2 separate regions of the Homo sapiens genome follow, and region 2 is linked to region 1. The links are contacts of gene promoters, found by promoter capture Hi-C in blood cells and fetal thymus (Javierre and others, 2016). All regions are on one chromosome and are shown on one strand. Each heading gives the region's core, a stretch centred on a gene start or on the middle of the fragment in contact. The rest is flanking DNA. Distances are from core to core; before and after follow the strand shown.

The links. Contacts are between HindIII fragments. The CHiCAGO score rates a contact against its expected background, and 5 or more counts as called.
Region 2: a fragment that was not itself captured here is called in contact with the fragment with the promoter of MTERF2 in region 1 in 1 of 17 cell types (naive CD8 T cells); the score reaches 5.4 in naive CD8 T cells.

Annotation. Positions count from the first base shown.
Region 1 is chr12:106,985,570-106,988,966 of GRCh38, forward strand. MTERF2 (mitochondrial transcription termination factor 2) reads right to left here and starts at 1,577. Exons shown (of 3, transcript NM_001033050.3): 1 at 1,400-1,577. The HindIII fragment of the contact is 15,581 bases long and covers 1-3,061 here.
Region 2 is chr12:106,390,787-106,394,183 of GRCh38, forward strand. It overlaps POLR3B (RNA polymerase III subunit B), which reads left to right. Exons shown (of 28, transcript NM_018082.6): 10 at 2,245-2,367. Among named protein-coding and RNA genes, the nearest start is that of POLR3B, 35 kb to the left of the region's middle. The HindIII fragment of the contact is 6,020 bases long and covers 1-3,397 here.

The DNA.
Region 1 (3,397 bases), core at 327-2,826:
CAACAGCTGCAGCTGTTCACGTGTTGTTTCTGTCTCAACACTACATGGACAGACTGGTCACCACAGTGTTCCAATGAACTGCTTCCCTATCCTTCACCCAGCTGCCTTCACTGCCTCTAGGAGGCATTCCTGGGCAGGTGGCCTTCTGTGTGCTCTTCCACAGCACCCTGCTCCGGACGCTACTGCAGCACTTATTATGCTCTTACAAGTTCTTCATTCTTCCAACCAGTAGGAATTTTGTTGCTGTTTGTTTGAAGTTCAAGCTGTGTATCAGGCATACTAGGCACAGATCTGCTAAAACAACACTTCTTCACACCTCTGTTTGGATCACAGATCAACTCAGAACCTGAGAGTCACAGACTCTCTTTCCAGAAGAAAAGACCCACGCTCACAACATTTCGCAAATGATTTTAGCAGGATTCATGGACACCCTGCAGCCCGGCCATGAATGACCTGCACTAGATTTACAAGCGTTGGGAAGGCAGGAACTGAACGGTGTTCTGCTTTATTCCCTGCACCCAGCAAAGAACTTGTTCCACAGAGAGACAAAATTAGTATTTGTCAGGTGAAACTGAGTGAACAAGTGGATGCGGTACATTAATGCAGTGGGTAAAACTGGGTTAGCAGAGCCAGACTGCCTGATTCCTGGACAACAGTTGTGTTGTGACTTGAAGAAGTTACTTCACCTCTCTGAGCCTCAGTTTGGCATCAGGAAAATGGTGATACTATCTCCTGGGTGACTGCAAAGATCAAACGAGTTAATACCATAAATCACTTAGAATATGCAGAAAACTCTTCACATATACTAAATCATTAAATCATCACAACAACTCATTTTAAAATGAGGAAACAGACGCAGGTAAAGGAACTTGCCCAAGGTTACTCAGCTAAAAAAAAAAACAAAAAACAAAAAACCGGCAGAATTTGGACTCAAACCCCACAGGTTGGCTCCAGAGTCCTGCCTGCTCTTAGCCCTGTGCCCCCACATATAGCAATGCTTTTGGTAAATGTTTGTTAAATCACAATGTGGGCTGTTCTAGGATGCTTGTTTCTTAAGCATTTTTGGGGAGTGAAATTCACTTCTGTAATACACAGTTATGGTTAGTATGGTCTTCTCTACACCACCACTGGTTTCAATAAAGTTCTTCTTTCGTAACACATATGCCCTGCTGCCAGTTTCAAATTGACCAACGTTTATAAGCAAGGAAAAACGAGGGTCCACGGAAGATCTCCAGGACCGATCAAAAGGCCGCACATTCACTGTGGGGCCTCCGCTTTTCCAGAGAAACCCGGCAGGCTGAGCTGAGCGTCTGGCGAGGCGTGGGGTTTTGCGGGCCCTGACCGCTGCGGCGCCGCTGGTGAGGAACACGCCCAGGAGCAGAGGAAGGGGGCGACTCACCCGTCGGCGTCAGCTCCAAGCAAGGCACAGGGAGTCCCGGGGGCCAGGCCCCGTCCTTCCCTCTCTCTCCGGCCAGCCTCCCCACAGTCCGCAGTCCCCGAGGCCTGGAGCCGGGATTTCGGTCCTCGGTCTCAAGAAGCTCCCGACAGTTCTCAGCAGCGCCAACCAGGCCATCAGTCCCTTCGCCCATGGCCAATCAGGGCTCGGGAGATGACCGCCAACCCCCGCCCCCCCAAGACACGCCCCCGCGTCCCAACGCAGCCAGTCAGAGCGCGGGACACAACTACGCGTCCCTCCCCGCACCACGAGGGCGAGTCGGAGTGGGAATCGGCTTTCCAGGCAGCCCAGCCTGTGCTGGCGGGGGCATCTGGCATTTTCACACCCTTTCCTTCCCAGCATTTTAGGAAGCGGAGTTCCAGTAGCTTTGACGCTTAGAAAATATAAGAAAAAAAAGAAGTAACAGAAACCGCTATATCTTTAAGATAGAGCCAATCACTGTTCCCAAAATAATTCAGTTAGGTAAAGAACCAACTTACAAAAGAAATGTTTAAAAAACCCCCAAAGTTCTTTGAAACACATCTGAACTCTTCCCCGCCCCCACCCTACCCCAGCAGTTAGCGACTGTCTTTAAAAGCCATTCTCCTTTCTCTCCCTCCTTGCCACCTTCACCTAAATACTCCCCTTTTCTGATAAACTGCCAAGTGGTTTCCATTCTAATTATTACCGGTGATGCCCAACCTCATACACTAAACACGTTAATTTCTCCTTAAAGCCAGGCTGAATGTCTCTCTCATTTATTTTCACATTTATCCATCCAAAAAACAAGTATTTATGGCAGGCCTGCTAAGTGCCAAGCATATTGAAACAGCAATGAGAAAATAGAGGGGGAATAAAACACATTCCCTGTCCTTATGGAGCTTACATTCTAGTGGAGGGCAGAGATATCAACAACTAATAACGTGACTAATCACACCTAGTTAAGTGTTATCGAGGACAGGGTGCCCTGAGCTGGGCCTGGTGATTCTGTTTGTGTGGAGTTGGAGTCAGGAAAACTGGTTTTCCCAGCTGGAGGTGTCTGCTGTCAGGTGTTCGTAGCACACTGTGCACAGTTCTGCCGTCGGTGGCACTGGCATACAGACTGCCCTCGCACCCTGTGGAGTGAATTCCTTGAGGCTACTGATTATTTTTTCTGTCAACAATGCTGGGCACACAGTAGGAACTCAGGAAATGTTAACTAAATCTTTGAGTCTAGTCTCACTATGCAGTTTAGGCTCAACAGGCTATATTGAGAGGAGCTCACACGTGCATTTAACTCCACTGAGTAGCAGCAAGAATCCTGGCTCCTCAAGATCACCCACCTCTGATCTCTAGGATATTCTAGAATGATCTGAGCAACTCATGTGTACAGCTGGGGGGTGTTTGTCCAGCAACTCCTGAGTTATCCGAATATAAAAACTCTATTATGCATAGATTTATTGCACACTTTTTCCTGAAATAAAATGATTTGGGGTCCAGACTAACCAAAGTGTGTCATTTGCACTTAGGAAAAGGAAATTAGGATACAGAAAAGGAAGTTAAGGAATGTAAACTCAGGACTTAGAACTGCAAGCTGCCATCACTGGTCAGGAGGGAGGGAGCAGAAATGTGCACCAGGGTGCTGGAAGCTTGTATTAGGGCTCCACGTAATTGTGCAAGGAATTACAATACATATGACCCCGTGCATTGTAATCAAAACTTGAAACTGACAAATCAGCTATGCCAACTGTATTAAATAAATGCTACTCAAAGTTTTTTCCAGCCCAAATATTTAAACAGTGCATTTCTAGGACCATATAATCAGAAAAAAAACCTTGAATGAAGAAAAGGGGAAAAGAACTTACAATTATGCATATTATGTACAAGAAAATTACAAACACATTTGAATTGTGAGAAGATCCTGAAATTTCTAGTATGTAAGAGATGCATTAAAAATACTGATAGACTTTTATATCTCAAATT
Region 2 (3,397 bases), core at 292-2,791, 590 kb before region 1:
GCTGTGTAACAGATTATAGCATAGCTTCTATTCATTGGGAATTTAAGACTTGCTTAGCTGGGTGGTTCTGGCTCAGAGTCTTTCATGTGCCAGGATGTCAGCCACAAGCTGAGCATAGTAGCATGTGCCTGTAGTCCCAGTTACTCAGGAGGCTGAGGTGGGAGGTTCACTTAAGCCCAGGAGCCTGAGGCTGTAGAGCACTATGATTGCACCTGTGAATACCCACTGCCTTCAGCCAGGGCAACATAAGCAAGACCGCTTCACCAAAGAGAACAAAAGAAAAGATAATCAGCCAGGGCTGCAGTTATCTGAAGGCTGAACTGAAGCAGCCTGGAGAATCTACTTCCAGGATAACTCACCCCCATGGCAGTTGACAGAAAACTGCAGGTGCTCATTGGCTGTTGGTAAGAGGACATAGTTTCTCACCACCGGACCTTGCCACAGACTGCTTGTGTGTTTCCATGACATGGTAGCTATCTTCCCCCAGAGAGAGCACTTTCAGACAGAGCAAGCAGGCAGCTATAGTGCCTTTTATGACCAGTCCTTCAAAGTCATCATACGTGCCACCTTCACATTTTTTTCTATAGAGGTGAGGCATTGAGCTTAGCCTGCACTTGGGGTGGGGAATTAGTCTCCACCTTTTGAAGGGAGTATCAAAGAATCTATGAAGGTTTTTAAAACCACCAATGTTGGCCTAAAAGGGACATGGGATCTATTCAGATTTCCCCCAAATCTTCAAAACTTTCTATAAGTTTACATCGGATCCTAAAGTATCCAAATCAAATTTTTAGAATGCAGACCACTGAAGGTCAAATGTAGAATCATAGCATTTTGAGCTGGAAGGGATCTGGTTTTTCATTTATGCAAATGAGAAAACAAAGGCGAAGAGGTTGCATGACAGTAGTAGTTGTAATGTCTGTGTGTGTTGTTGGTATTATATTAGCACAAACACCTCAGATCTCTGGACTTTTAGATAGATGCCCCTGTTGTACTGAGGATAATGTCCTTGATTTTCTGCATTGGAACTTGGGATTTGATTTTCCCTTCCTTTCTTTTTTGTGTGGAGAACTGGGAACTAGGGCATCAACACTAACTACACAATTATCCTCTGGTTCTGTCTTCTCTACAGCTGAAGGAAGAATTTTAATGCAAACATAACTTTTCCCCTCACTTCTAAGAAGCTGACTATTACTCTTCCAGGAGAGATTTAGTGAGATTATGCTGTGTTCCTTGATATGGCAAAATTCCAGGCAAATGTGTGAAGGAGTGAGCCCTAGTACCATATGGAATCTACAAAGACTTGCGTTGCTGCTGCCACCTTGAAACACTTAAGTGGGTTTCTGAAACCTCTTAAGTGTATTCCTACTTTTTTTATTTTCTTATTTTTTTTCCCGAGACGGAGTTTTGCTCTCGTTGCCCAGGCTGGAGTGCAATGGCACAATTTCAGCTCACTGCAACCTCCACCGCCCGGGTTCAAGCGATTCTCCTGCCTCAGCCTCCCGAGTAGCTGGGATTACAGGCACATGCCAACACATCTGGCTAATTTTTGTATTTTTAGTAGAGATGAGGTTTCGCCACGTTGGCCCAGCTGGTCTTGAACTCCCAACCTCAGGTGATCCACCTGCCTCGGCCTCCCAAAGTGCTAGGATTACAGGTGTGAACCACCATGCCTGGCCCATGTGTTCCTACTTTTTAAGTCTCCTTTGAAACCTGCATGAAGTTTGGTTTGATATCTTTAGAATAGTGAGGTAAAACGTGTTTTAGGAAAAATTCTTTTCCTTTTTAGGAAAAATATGAGTGATTTGACAGTTCTCAGAAAAATTAATTTTGTGACAAGACTGATTGGGGTTCTGCTTATTTTCAGCAATGCATCTTTTCTGATTCACTGCCTTTTGGCTGTTTGTCTTTACAGTTTGCCTTTGTAGTCATGACCAGTTGTCTTTACCATACCTCCCAGCCTCCTTTTTTCGTGATGAAACTCTTAGAATATTTAAAAATTTTAGCAGATAGTACACATGCAAAAAATGTTTGAGAATGTTTGTTTTCCACTTTCTAATCAAAATATCTGTTTCAGGTTTTTCTGCAGCTTGGGCAAGGCTGCCAATGCCAGATGGCACCATTTCTGAGAGAAGAGCTAGCTTTTGCTTAGAAGTAATACCCACAAACAATGCCAAATTAGCATAAGCAAATGTCAGTGAGTTAACACAAAGCCAACACTCTTTCTATCTTTTCTTTCCTTCCTAGGCCATGGGTGTTGAGAGTGACCAGGAAATTGTGCAGATGATTGGAACAGAGGAGCACGTGATGGCTGCATTTGGGCCCAGTCTGGAAGAGTGCCAGAAAGCTCAGATTTTCACACAGATGCAGGTGTGTCTTTTCATGTTGTCCTTTGCTATGAAATGGAATTGGAGACTTAATGCTGCTCATTGATAAAGCTCATCGGATGTGATGGCTTTGGGCTCATAGATTTGGGAAAGGTATTGGGGAGATATGGGAGGAGTGAAGTTTCTTTAACTCACTTTCGTCAGGTTTGGAGGAAGGAGTTTGCCCAGACAAATTAGGAGCCTATGGTGCCCGACTTAGAATAGGGGATATATGGCGAAGAGGTGTTTGTTTTGATATAATAGGAAGTACTGTTTTTTTTTCCTTATTTGCCTGAGTGATAATATACTTTTTAAACTATGGCAACTCTCGTGTACAGGTTTTGTGTGTGTGTGTGTGTGTGTGTGTGTGTGTGTGTGTGTATGTGTGCATGCATTTCTCTTTAATATCTTTTTTTATTCCCTACTTCAGTTGCTTTAGGCATCCAGTTGTATGTGGTTTCTATTTCTTTTCCTGAATTCCCAGTGCTGCTTTGGACAGCAAGGAAAACCCAGGATCAGTCCCTTTTACTGCTGCAGAGCCTTCATTGACCTGCTCAGGCACTCCTGGTTGGACCCTGGGAATTTTAGGGCAAGACTCAAAGATGAAGACTGAGAAATACACACACACACACACACACACACACACACACACACACCCCATAGTAAAAATAATTGCACTTCCCTTCCCACATGGAGGGAGCCCCAGCAGCCATACTTAGGATTTTAGTCCCATATTTGCAAGTGCTTTCCTAAGTATAAATCAAAGTTAACATCCCTCATAGCCATCCTGGGAGGTGGGAATTCCCCACTATAGAATCACAACAGACAGTTCTTACCTATCCACGTGTACATTGTCTATTCTGTGGGTTATGTATGACATATGTAAACTCTGGGCTGCTTTTTTCTCTTCACCCAGGATGCTTGTAGAGAAAGCATTTCCCACTTATATCTGTTAGTGTGTATTCTGAAATCAAATCAGTATTGATATTTTTGTAGACTACACTAGATATTTAGGAAGATCGAAATAGGTCAGT